Regions from separate parts of the Homo sapiens genome. Here region 2 is linked to region 1. Evidence: promoter capture Hi-C in 16 types of primary human blood cells and fetal thymus (Javierre and others, 2016). All regions are on one chromosome and are shown on one strand. Each heading gives the region's core, a stretch centred on a gene start or on the middle of the fragment in contact. The rest is flanking DNA. Distances are from core to core; before and after follow the strand shown. Region 1 holds the start of UBN2 (ubinuclein 2). Region 2 overlaps ZC3HAV1 (zinc finger CCCH-type containing, antiviral 1).

Evidence for each region. The method cuts DNA at HindIII sites, captures the fragments that hold promoters and counts their contacts. A CHiCAGO score of 5 or more calls a contact.
Region 2: a contact is called between a fragment that was not itself captured here and the fragment with the promoter of UBN2 in region 1, in 1 of 17 cell types (neutrophils). The highest score is 5.2, in neutrophils.

What each region holds. Positions count from the first base shown.
Region 1 is chr7:139,228,614-139,235,204 of GRCh38, reverse strand. UBN2 (ubinuclein 2) reads right to left here and starts at 3,968. Exons shown (of 18, transcript NM_173569.4): 1 at 3,253-3,968. The coding sequence starts at 3,720. It also overlaps the pseudogene MZT1P2. RefSeq lists silencers at 2,752-3,011, 2,958-3,177, 3,388-3,637 and enhancers at 3,808-3,947, 4,028-4,187. The HindIII fragment of the contact is 12,885 bases long and covers 229-6,591 here.
Region 2 is chr7:139,049,750-139,056,340 of GRCh38, reverse strand. It overlaps ZC3HAV1 (zinc finger CCCH-type containing, antiviral 1), which reads left to right. Exons shown (of 13, transcript NM_020119.4): 10 at 1,046-1,136; 11 at 2,246-2,376; 12 at 2,760-2,890. It also overlaps the pseudogene RPL17P28. Among named protein-coding and RNA genes, the nearest start is that of MIR10399, 8.9 kb to the right of the region's middle. The HindIII fragment of the contact is 1,979 bases long and covers 2,306-4,284 here.

The DNA of each region.
Region 1 (6,591 bases), core at 2,719-5,218:
TTACTATGGTATGACTCATTTTATATGTATAAATATAAACACATGGATCTATATTTTTAATAAGAATCACCTTATATGCCATTCTAAAATATTTTATGTATTTTATGTAGGTATCAAAAGTACAGCTCTTATTTTCTCTTGACAGCCTACAAAAACAAATTTAAGAAAATGGACTCACTTTTCTTTCACAGTTAAGAATAAACACCCTCCCCCAATCAAGATTAAGCTTTTTTGTTTTTTCAGGTGAAAAAAAATCTGAAAATTATCAACTACCCACATGCAAAACTGATGCAATAATTTTGTCCTTTGATCTTAACTCATCAACACCATTTTCAGGAGGTCTTTCACAAATTTCATCAAAAATACGCAAACAATGAAATACCATGGAATTCTCAAATAGTATAGTTACATTAACACACTTAATCACTTATTTTTCTTTTTACAGTAAATGTTCAATTAAGCATGTTCACAAATGGGTGTTCTGGTTAACTGATTTTTCTGGTTTACTAAGAGTTAAACCTTTTCTTGTGTATCAATCATTGCCAAAATTTATTTCTAAAATGCACTATTACCCTTTAGCCAGAAATGGTGACCAAATTAATCTTTCAGGATAGAGATGATTCCAATGCCAGTCATCATCCTAAACCATCTCAATCACAGCACTGTACTGCCTAGAGACAATAAGGTTAAAGGTTTAGCTAACCTGTGGTTTTGTTTTTCCTATTTTCCCAACATAAATTATTTAATTGTGCTTTCCTCATTAATACAAATAGAGCATAGAAAAATTTCTGATTATGTTCCAGTAAATCAGGGTTTTACTGTTCATTTAGTATTTAAGAAGGGAACTGATTTAAATGCACCCACATGAATGGTATCCATATGTAACACACCTTTTGTTGTTTGTTTTTTTTTAATAGCCCCACATCTACCAATTTCAGCATCTGGAGCTAAAATCTTATTTAGTGATAGATGGCTATTTCAAAAATGTGGAGCCCTTCCTTTTCTAATTCTTCTAATTTTGGGAACCACCAACTTTCCAGACCAATTCTAATGTTCGCATTTTGCTTTTTGATGGTCTCTCTTCTAGGATTTCCTTTCATGAAACCATGACAATTTTACTTAAACATATGTTTTCTATGCTTTCTTGCATAATAAGGATATACACTGGCAGCAATCACAGGAAAATGTGGCAAATCTTTGTTGCAAAGGTGATTATATACAATGGATTTTGTTTTGTTCAGAGGTATATGAAAAAAATAGAAGGTTGATATACGAGATAATTGGGCCAATAGACACCTATACTGTTAATAAGTATACAGAAAAATTAAATGGAATTTTTCCTCTTTCTCCTATTGCATGAAAGTAGTAGTTCTGGTGTTATCAAGTTAACAAAGCTAGGGTGTCAAACCTTTTTCTTTTTATAATTAAATGATACACATTATTAATTTGCCATCGTGTGAATATTACAGCATAAACAGAGACATAATAAAGGTCTTTGTATTTCTACTGCGACTTACATTTTACGTCATTTTGGCAGAATCCTCTAAACTATATGAGTTAATTTTAAGAAATTTTGTTTTACTAACAAATTGTATCACTATGGAAAGAAGTACTAATAAAATTACATACATTTGTAAAGTGAGGATAATAGTTTTTACCTCGTGGAGTTCTGTTGGACTACTAGAAAAACCATGTGCAGTGCTTAGAACTGTGTCTAGCACACAGTAAGAACCAGTAAATGTCGTTATTGCTATGTATTTTTATCCAAAGATAATGCTTTTCTCCTGTAATTTATGAAAATTACAAAAACTGCAAACCAACTTAGATTAGCAGCTCAAATACAATGTTTGAAAAATGCTCCAATCCAATATTTTTAATATTCTTTTGGGAAAAAAGTGACCTCAGATTTATAAAGAAGGGGCATTCAAGTGAGTCTGACGAGCAAAATGTTAGGTGGAAGTGACCAAAATGATCTCTACCTTTAAACAATTCATTTTGGTTGAAAACATTTTGTAATGATTTGACCACATAACATTTCTAAATAATGATCAAAACATTAGCTGGCCATGAAGTAAACAAAACCTAGTGAAATTGTTCAACATGATACTTTGTGACTAAGCAGTCAGTCATTTTGACCATAAAGGTAGTTGAAGATGAAAACAAAACAAGGGACTTCTGGAGTCCATTAGACTCAAGCTAAAGCAAAACCTAATAACGGGTATAATTGCTAAGCAACAGAGAAAACTGTTCTCTTTCCTTACTGTTAATCTATCATTTCCTTTTCTAACTTACTTCTGAAGATCCACCAACCCACAACAATAAAAATTACAATTACGAACATAACCCCTATCCTTTCTCCATTGTTCACCTCTTACATCAAAAGCATACCTATATATTTTCAATTATTTTAAAAAATTCAAAGCTGACATTTTTTTCATCATCCTCCGAAAATTACAAAGGCTGAATACAATATCCTTCTATAAACTAATGATAGTACACTTAAATAATATGACGGGTAGGTGTCAAATAAAACAGGAGACACCTTCCCATTCAATTACAATATGAACGAACTCCACAAAAAAGGAAAGCTAAAAAGGTTTTCCAATACCAACACGAGAGAAAAATTAGTAACCAGATTAACTAACCCACTTCTCCATTCCTAAAGTGGGATCCTTAGTCTCTGAAAACCTTTAATTATTCTTAAATTCCCTTCGATTAAGAAAAATATCACAGGCACGCAAGCACACCTCAGCAGCCACGGCGCCCAGCAAAACAAACAGTGATGAGGATGAGGATGATACGAGAGGGGTTACACAATCTCTGCTTCAGACTGGGGGGCGTGTCCCCCAAGGTTTTCTCTTCCTTTCTACTGGAACGACAGCTGTAGCGCCACAGGGAGAACCCAGCCACACGGCCTGCAGGGCCCCAGGATTTTGTGTGGGGAGCAGAAAGGAAAGAAGGAAAATCTGAGGTTCCGAAAGGTGCACAAGAAAACGAGCTCGGCGCGGCGTTGGGAGCGAGTGCCGGGGGTTTGGGGATTCGGCGCAGCCGGGTGAGAGCCTCGGCCACCCTGGGGAGTGGAGAAAGCAGCGCTCACCGCCCCGTCCACCCGCTCGGCCCCGGCCCCCCGCACCCCACCCTCGGGGCGACCCGGACGCGCTCGGTGGGCGTCCCAAGGTGCAAACCAGCTGGGGAAGGCGGCGGGTCCTGAGGCTCCCGGGGTCTGGGGCAGGAGGGAAGAATCTTCTGTACCCGTTGTTCTCCGCACAGCAGCAGCTCCGGGTAACTGAACTCCACGCAGCTCTCGTCGGTGGGGTCCTTAAGCACCAGCTCCAGGCGCACCGTCTCCCTCGGCGGCCGCGGCGGCTGCTCAGCCCGGGAAGCCGACTCCCGCGGCGGGGGCGGCTGCAAGGGCAGCGGCGGGAACGGCGGCGGCGGCTCGGGCCGCGGGGGCTCCCGCTGCAGCGACATGGGCGGCTCGGCGCGGCTGACCTCGCGCTGGGGGAGCGGCTTCTCCCGCGACGGGGGCTGCGCGTCCGAGCGGGGGGCAGGCTCCCGCGGGGCCGGCGGCTCCGCCCGGGCCGGCTCGCGGTACGGCTGCGGCTCCAGCCGGGGGGGCTCGCGGGGGTACTCGGGCTCACGCTCGGGCCCCGGGTACTCGGCCTCGCGCCGCCGCACCGGTGACAAGCTAATGAACGCTACTCTGCGCGGCTCCGCCATCCCCACTGTTCTGGCCCTCCGCTTTTGCTCGAGCCGGCGCTCGCTTCTACGGCGCGCTGCGTGCCTGCCCGCCCTTCCTCTTGCTCTCTGTCGCTTTTCTTCCCTCCACCACCCTCAGCCGTCTCCGCCGGCGCCACGGTGAGTGCGGACCGTGTCCCCTTCCCCGCTACTACGTTCTGATGGGCTTCACCGCCATCGCCAGGGTCGCCGCGGCCGCCATGTTGGATCCCCCACATAAATAGAAGCAGGCCGCTGAGCGGGCGCATGCGCACAGAGGAGACGCTCGCGTCCACTGTCGTGGCTGTTGCTCAGTTTTCCTCTTTTCCTCCCAACAGTCTGGAGTCCAGACAGGTCGGCGGAAGTGACGACATGGCTCGGCCTGTTTCCGTGGAAACGGAGACGCCGTCTGCACCCTTCCTCAAAGGGAGGGTTCTGGGGTTTCCCGAGCAGTTTACTATTCGCACCCGGAAACCAGAGGCGCTCCAGGAGCTTCCCGGGGCTAGCATCGGGATGGGACTGAGACCGACCTAGCCATTGGCGCCGGGTCTCCCGTGCTGGGTTCAAGGGAATTGGGGTTGTTAGCTGATTATTCAAGGCGGACTCTGGGCAAGGGTAGAGAGACGCGCCAGCCGTTGTGCCTGCCCGCCCTGTGTCCCCGTAGCCTTAAGTATCGAGGGAAAAAAGGAAGTGCCCAGCTTCAGCCAGACTAGCCCCAGCGGCTTCCCTCCCGAAAGCGCAGGCCTCCCCTTCCTCGACCTACTCCGGTTTCCCTCGCCCGGCCGCAGTGGGCGTTGCGTGGGGCAGGGTCATTAAATGTTCAATAACGCTTTGCAGTTGGAAAATTAACAAGCAGATGAGGAGTTCTGGGCTCATTCAGAAGGCCTAAACTGCTGAAATCATAGAAAACTTCTTAAGAGGGTTTAGTGGTATTTCAGGAAACGTACTGTTTATGAGAATGCTAAAGGACCCATTTCAGGATGGGGAAGGAATTGATTGGGCACGCCCCATAGGCTCACTTGTAATTAATTAATTGGAAGTCGGGTTTAAAAGGATAAGAATTACTGGCCATTTTAATCCATTGAATAAAAAGTAAATTTGAGGGCTCGCCCTTCACATCCTGAAGGGAATCCAAGCCTTCTGTTAATTGCATTAACTATTGAAAGCTCTTTTATTAAGTCAGTGTGACGTCATTGACAAATTCTGAGAGGGTTCCGTTTTTTCCTCTCCTGTTATTACTTTCCCTACTTGGACGAAGATGGTGATGAAATCTATGATTCCAAAGGTCTCTCCCAGCTCTAAAACCCTATCTTTTCTACTCGGCGCCATGTTTTACCTACATTATCTCCTTCCCTATTGCTCCTTTTCTGATTCTGAATTCGGGTCTCATTTTTAGATTGCCTTAGTGATACTTAAATGACCTTTCTGCCTTCAGTCTCTGTTCCCACCAGTCTTGAGACGGGGTCATATTAATGTCTCTAAAAGAGTTTTTATTATATCGTTCTCTGTTCTGGCTGCAACTTACCTACAAACTGAGTTCTATGTATGTATACTCATATTCAATATCCTCCACAATTTAGCTCAGAGACTGCAAACTGGTGGTCTGTGGGCCAAATCCTTCTACAGGTGTGTTACTTATCCAACATTATCTTCTAACTTCTCACCCACTGAGTTTTCCAACTTTTTGATCCATAACCCACAGTAAGACATTTTACACTGTAACCTAGAATATACACCCATATATACATAACACATATGTGCATATGTGAAATATAAGTTTCACAATACTTACCTACTGCTTAGGATAAAGTAAAAGCAACAGACGCAACAGAGTTAATTTAATATAAAATATTTTATAATACAGTGTAGAAAAAAATGTTAACATCATATAGAAGCAAATTAGGAAAGATTTTATTTAATGCCATGGAAGTTCTTGCCTGATCATAGGTTTATTGCACTCCAGAATTCATTAGGACAGTGGTACATGAACATCTGATCCACTGTGGTGCCTGATCTTTTTCTTCTTCTAAACTGATCAAAATTGAAAACCCTAGTTCAGATATATAGGCAGTCATGAATAGTAATAATGCGTATGCATGTTCTGCATAGTAATAAATTCTTCTTTAATCTTAGTCTGACATCATGATAAATTGCATACCCGACAATCATTTCTCTGTGTAAATGAAGTACTAAGCTGTAATAATTTATTCTCTTCATAAAATACCAAGTTTAATCAAGTTAATTATTTAAATCAATAAAAATGATCTGGTTCACCCTATTAACTGCCCAACAAACTGTTTGAAAACTATATATTCTTTGTTAAAGGGTAGATTACAAGAAATGTTTTCCATGTTCTTAATTTAAAAAACAAGATTCTGATATAATGAACCTAAATCAAAATTCACAAATGGTGGCTGAAATCCTGTGAGAGTACAACATAAATCCATAGTTATTGTGCATAAACAATTCAAAATTAGTTTATAAAGGGAACGTCAACAAGTCCTATAACCACCACACCTTATTACTAATGGGTTCCACCACACTTCACCCAGGCACAGCAGATATAAACATCTGACAGACTGCTCAGAAAATTAAAGCTATTAGAGCTATAAATAAGGAATGCCTAAATATAAACATAGCAATGCCAATACATTAGTGCCGTTTTAAAAAGTGAATAAGATGCAGTGTAAACACACCTGATAGTTCCCTCTGTAAGCCACTTTCCCACTGATTTATAAAGCTATGGTTCTGTAATTCTTTTAAAAAGGACTATTTTTCTACACTGCTGCATGCAGTAATTTCACCGTACGTTCTTGATTACGACGCAGTCTTCAAATCCTCTTGAAGAGCTCAACATATCAGGATTTCTCCAGA
Region 2 (6,591 bases), core at 2,046-4,545, 180 kb after region 1:
TTCCAAATTCAAAATGTAGAAAATTAACCTGGCATGCTGGCTGATGCTTATAATCCTAGCACTTTGGGAGGTTGAGGTGGGAGGATCACTTGGGCTCAGGAGGTTGAGGATATAGTGAGCCATGATCACACCACTGTACTTCAGCCTGGGTGACAGAGTGAAACTCTGTCTCAAAACAGATTAGCAAATTGTTTCCTCATGGGGTCATTTGATGTGTAATTTCTATAAATTGATCATTAGATTTAGGGAACTGATTAGATTTAGGTTCAGTTTTGAGTCAAGTATGCTATACAATTGATGGCTTCGTACCAGTGGTTCTGTCCCATCTTATGAAGAGATATACAGTGTCTGATTGTCCTATTTTTAGTGATGGAGATCACAGAGTAGGTTCAGGTCATTCCAGTCTGATCATTCCACTATACTATTCATCTGATCTTTCACTTAATGGTTTTAGTAGCTAATGATAATGATTGTTTAGAACCATGATGTCATTAAGTATTGCCAAATGGTGGTTTTCTAATTCTATCAACTCTTTTGCAACTATTAGTGTGATTCATCTATAAAGAAGAATTTTTCTGGTAGCTTTAGCTCTATGGGATAGAAAAAGAAAATTACTTCTCAGGTATGGTTACCCTGAAATACAGTTCATACTGGAAAGGCAGAATTCTTTCCTCTAAATTCCTAATATATTTAATCGTTTATCCTTTGACCAAGAAGCTGTAAGACACATTTGCTTAATGCTAACACATTAGGACCTTTGAAAGTTGAGCAGAAATATAAAAAAGAGTCAATACTTTTACATTTTAAGTCAATAGGAAAATGGCATTTAATTGACCGATTATGAATAGTTGCAGCATTTTTAAAAGACATGATTACTGGTACATCTATACCAGGAATATGTGAGGATGTAGTCCAGAGAAAAATACAGAAATAAATATTGTGTATTTCTCTAGGCATCCTTGGCCTAGTGGCTGGAAGTTAAGAGAAAACATCACTTGGGCCTGTGGAGCAGAGAGTTAAGTGAATTCTTTCTCTTTATTTGTAGCCATCAGCCAGCAAAGACCTCGTCAGTGTCTTTAACTGCGACCTTTCGTCCTCAGGAGGACTTTTGCTTCCTATCCTCAAAGAAATATAAGGTACTTGGTTTTACATGTTTGGTGGATGAGTCTGTTAAAAGTTAGAAAAAGTACTTTGCTACAAGTGTATGTGTTTGTCTGGATGAATGAATTGCTCCCGCAAAACTCTTAGATCGGCTGGGTGCAGTGGCTCAGCCCTGTAATCCTAGCATTTTGGGAGGCCGAGGCGAGTGGATTGCCTGAGCTCAGGAGTTCGAAACCAGCCTGGACAACACGGTGAAACCCTGTCTCTACCGAAAATACAAAAAAATTAGCCGGGCATGGCGGCATGAGCCTGTAGTCCCAGCTACTTGGGATGCTGAGACAGGAGAATTGCCTGTACCCGGGAGGCGGAGGTTGCAGCGAGCCGAGATCGCGCCACTGCACTCCTGCCCACTGCACTGCAGCCTGGGCGACAGAGTGAGACTCTGTCTCCAAAAAACAAACAACAACAACAAACACTCTTAGATCAAGGTAGAAAGGCAGTCATCTAATGGTTCTCTTTCCCAGAGATCACCTAACTGCTACAAGGCACCTCATTGTTTCCAGAGTTCAGCCACACACAGTCTCATTTGGGCAGATCCTCGCAACAGCCATGTGAAATGGATATTAACATCTCTATTTTATGGACAAGAAAACTAGAACTCACAGAGTAAAAGTGACTTGTCCGTTAGTTACAATTAACAAGTTTCTATGGGAGTCAAACAAACTGTGCCTCACTGTGTCACTTAACCTAGTTGGATCACAACTATTCCTAGATTGCTTAGCCTCCCCATGCTGGCTTCAGCTTTTGTGCAGGCTGGTCTGCTTGGACTGCATGGCACCTCAATTCCTCTTCCCTTGCATTGGGAAGAGGTTACTGGACTAACTCAGACTGCAGGGGACTTCCCTTTTCCCTTAGGCACAGTGCTTTGCTAGCTTTCAGTTGGCCTGGACAGACAGGCCCGCTGCCTCTCTGATTAATTACGGGAATGAGTTGGCAGATGTGGGAACCCTAAGCCAGCTCATCCTATCTGCTGTTAGAAAGAACCCTGGTAACAATACTTCATGGCATAAGGGGGCACATATGTGGATGTATCATGCTTTAAATGTTTCCTATTTCACATTTATCTATTTTTAAACTTTATTAGTTGTCAGAGATCCATCACCTACATCCAGAATATGTCAGAGTAAGTGAGCATTTTAAAGCTTCCATGAAAAATTTCAAGATTGAAAAGATAAAGAAGATCGAGAACTCAGAGCTCCTGGATAAATTTACATGGTTGGTGGCCACGTTATCGTGTTTCTTTACATAAAACCGGAAAGGATTAGTTAATATCCGTCCTTTGAGATTTATATTCACTGATTTATTTTAGTAGTTAACAGTTCCTTTAGGCGCTAGTCTTTTTTTTTTTTTTTCATTCTATCAACTCTGGCTTCTCTCTCTCAGCCTTACTGCTTTACAATTCAATGATTTCATGTGTCTATCTTTTAAAAGTTTTCATAAATTTATTATTGTACAGCTGCTGCCTTAAAGTTAGTAGCTCCGTTGTGAAAGCTGATGGAGTGAAATTTTTAGATGATTAGACTTTAGCTGGGATTAATGTTATCAACTGGAGTGGGAAGGGGATGTCTCCGTGTTAAGTCTCACATCTCTTATATTAGGAAGAAATCGCAGATGAAGGAAGAAGGAAAACTCCTATTTTATGCGACAAGCCGTGCCTATGTGGAATCTATCTGTTCGAATAATTTTGACAGTTTCCTACATGAAACTCATGAAAACAAATACGGAAAAGGTTAGTGCCGGGATAGAGAAGCGTAACTAGTAGAGTCATAACTCGGGCTTTATATGTGCTTCTATTAGGAGGTATATGTAATTATTTTGTATTAACCAGAGTGTCCAGGCTCTAGTGGTCCTGGAGAGACAGTAAGCTCACGGTAATATCAAATGCCCAAATGAGAGTGAATCAGTTGACTTGGAGCTTGATTGCTGGACCTTAGTCCCTGTCTTCTGTTTTCTTTCTGGGAGTGACCAAAGTCTTCATACGTGCTTGTAAACTACTCCATCTGTTGGTCTTGTTGTCTACCATTACTACTCACTTCTGGCTTGGCTCTTCCTGAACCCATGTCCATGCCTGCGAAGCTATATGAGGCTTCAGTTGTCACAGATTGGTTTTAATTAAAGAGCGGGAGAAGAGGCCTCTCCCCATCTCAGGCCACACTGGGTCACCTCGGTCTGAAGTGTCACAGGTCTGCCCACACACAAAATCTTTATAGCTCTTTCTTTTTGCTCCTAAACTCTTGCATCCAATTTTTTTTTTTTTTTGAGACAGGGTCTCACTTTGTCACCCAGTTTGGGTGACAATCTCGGCTCACTGCAGCCTCAACCTCCTGGGCTCAAGTGATCCTACAACTTCAGCCCCTCAAGTAACTGGGACAACAGGTGTGTGCCACCACATCCAGCTAATTTTTTTTTGTTGTATTTTTTATAGAGACAGGGTTTCGCCATGTTGCCAAGGCTGGTCTCAACTCCTGAGCTCAAATAATCCGCCTACCTTGGCCTGCCAAAGTGCTGGGATTTCAGGCATGAGCCACTGCTCCTGGATGCATGCAACTCTTTTTTTTTTTTTTTTTTTTTTTGGAGACAGAGTTTCGCTTTTATTGCCCAGGCTGGAGTGCAATGGCTCGATCTCGGTTCACTGCAACCTTCACCTCCTTGGTTCAAGTGATTCTCCTGCCTCAGCCTCTCAAGTAGCTGGGATTACAGGCATGTGCCACCACGCCCAGCTAATTTTGTATTTTCAGTAGAGACTGGGTTTCTCCATGTTGGTCAGGCTGGTCTAGAACTCCTGACCTCAGGGGATCTGCCTGCCTTGGCCTCCCAAAGTGCTGGGATTACAGGTGTGAGCCACTGCGCCTGGCCTGCATGCAACTCTTAAAAACAAACAAACCAGAGGGGAGGGGGGTGGGGGGAGGGATAGCATTAGGAGATATACCTAATGCTACGTGACGAGTTAATGGGTGCAGCACACCAACATGGCGCAGGTACACATATGTAACAAACCTGCACGTTGTGCACATGTACCCTAAAACTTAAAGTAAAATAACAATAAAATGAAAAAAAAAGAAAAAAAGAGAAATATTTATGAATGTAAATGTTTATTGTCCATTTTTAACTAATAAGCAAGCTTACTAAAAACTGCACTTCACACTTAGCTTAATGTTTGAGGGAATTAACTTCATAAATAAAAACTAGAAAATTAAAAAAACAAAAAAAAAACTAAGAATCAGTCATCTTTAGGAAATAAGTAATAGTTTATCACAGATTCAAAGTGAGTTCAACTCATACAACTAGGATTAAATTCAATTCTTGCCCCAAAAGGCAAGAAGTCAATCAGCCAGTCAGCAAATATTTTTGAGTGTCTTCTGTACACTAGATGGTGGGTACACAGTGGTGAACAAGTTAGACATGGCCCCAAACACATTTTGCATAATTATCTTACATAATTAATTAAATGACTGTGGCCAGGCATGGTAGCTTAGACCTGTAATTCCTGTACTTTGGGAGGCTGAGGTGGGAGGATCACTTGAGCCCAGGAGTTGGAGACCAGCTTGGGCAACATGGCGAGACCTTATCTAATTTTTTGTTTTAATTACAAACAAATTTTTTTAATTACCTGGGCATGATGGCACATGCCTGTAGTCCCATCTACTCAGCAGGGTGAGGTGGGAGAATTGCTTGAGCCCAGAAGTTTGAGGCTGCAGTGAGCTGTGATTGTGCCACTGTACTCTAGCCTGGGCGACAGAGCAACATTTTGTCTCAAAAAAAAAAAAAAAAAAATTAAATGATTGCAAATGTTGGGCTGCTATAGAGAAAAATAACAGATCCAGGTCAGGCGCGGCAGCTTCGCCTGTAATCCCAGCACTTTGGGAGACCGAGACAGGCAGATCACTTGAGGTCAGGAGTTCAAGACCAGCCTGGTCAACATGGTGAAACCCCGTTTCTACTAAAAATACAAAAATTAGCTGGGTGCAGTGGCCCATGCCTGTAATCCCAGCTACTTGGGAGGCTGAGGCAGGATAATCGCTTGAACCCGGGAGGCAGAGGTTGCGGTGAGCTGAGATCATGCCATTGCACACCAGCCGAGACTCCGTCTCAAAAAAAAAAAAAAGAAAAAAGAAAAAAAGGAACAGGTCCTGTGGACAACTAACCCAGCTAGAGAGGTGTTCCCAAGGATAGAGATAGAGTAGGATTCCCCTGCCTTGTAGAGTCACCACATGGCGGAGAAGGGAGAAATGGAACAAGGTATGACCATAAAGAGCTAAACTTGACTGTAAGCGCATGGGAAACTAATGAAAGGTTTTAAGCTGGGGAATGAATTTATTGATGAGATTTCATAAGTTTATTAAGTTTAAATGTATCAGTGAAACTTACCTAGAAGTGTTTGGAGGAAATGGGAAATGTAGTAACCATCTTAAGTGACATATGATAGGTGAAATTAAAACCCATCAGTTTCTTACAGGTCTATCCTATGTTAGAATTCAAACAAATATTTATCCTAAAAAATGAAATGTTAGGCTAGGCACTGTGGCTCATTCCTGTAATCCCAGCACTTTGGGAGGCCGAGGTGAGTGAATCACCTGAGGTCAGGAGTTTGAGACCAGCCTGACCAACATGGTGAAACCCCCCCATCTCTAATAAAAATACAAAGTTAGCTGGGCGTGGTGGCACATGCCTGTAGTCCTAGCTACTCGAGAGGCTGAGGCATGAGAGTTGATTGATCACAAGAAGGGGAGGCTGCAGTGAGCTGAGATCCTGCCACTGCACTCCAGCCTCAGTGACAGAGGAAAACTCTGTCTCAAAAAAGAAAAAAATAAAGCACTCAGAAATGTAGGAATAGAAATGAACTTTCTTAACACAATAAAGGGAATTTTAAAAAAAGAAAATATAGATTCCAGATTATATAAGTGTGATATAAAAAAACTGATGCAACAAAAACAAAAATGGACAAATGAGATAGCATCAAACTAAAAAGCTTCTCCACAGTAAAGGAAACAATTAACAAAGTGAACAGACAAACCCACAGAGTGGGAGAAAATATTTGCAAGCCATACATCTGATATGGGATTAATATCCAAAATATGTAAGGAACTTAAACAATTCAACAGCAAGAGAACAAATAACTCAATTTTAAAATGTGCAAGCTGTTCCCATAAGTGGCCTGCGGTGATCTGTGAAAATGGTTCACTATTCACTTGACCCAGAAAACTCCATGAAATCATGCAAATAAAGAGGTTCAAATCTTCATGTTCACTCTAAGGACACCCATGAAACTGCCCAGGCCATCAAGAGTACGCCTATATGAAAAGCCAGCAAATGTCTGAAAGATGTCACTGTATGGAAACAATGTGTACCATTCCAACGTTACGAGGGTGGAGTTGGTAGGAGTGCCCAGACCAAACAGTGGGGCTGGGCACGCAGTTTGTGACCCCAAAA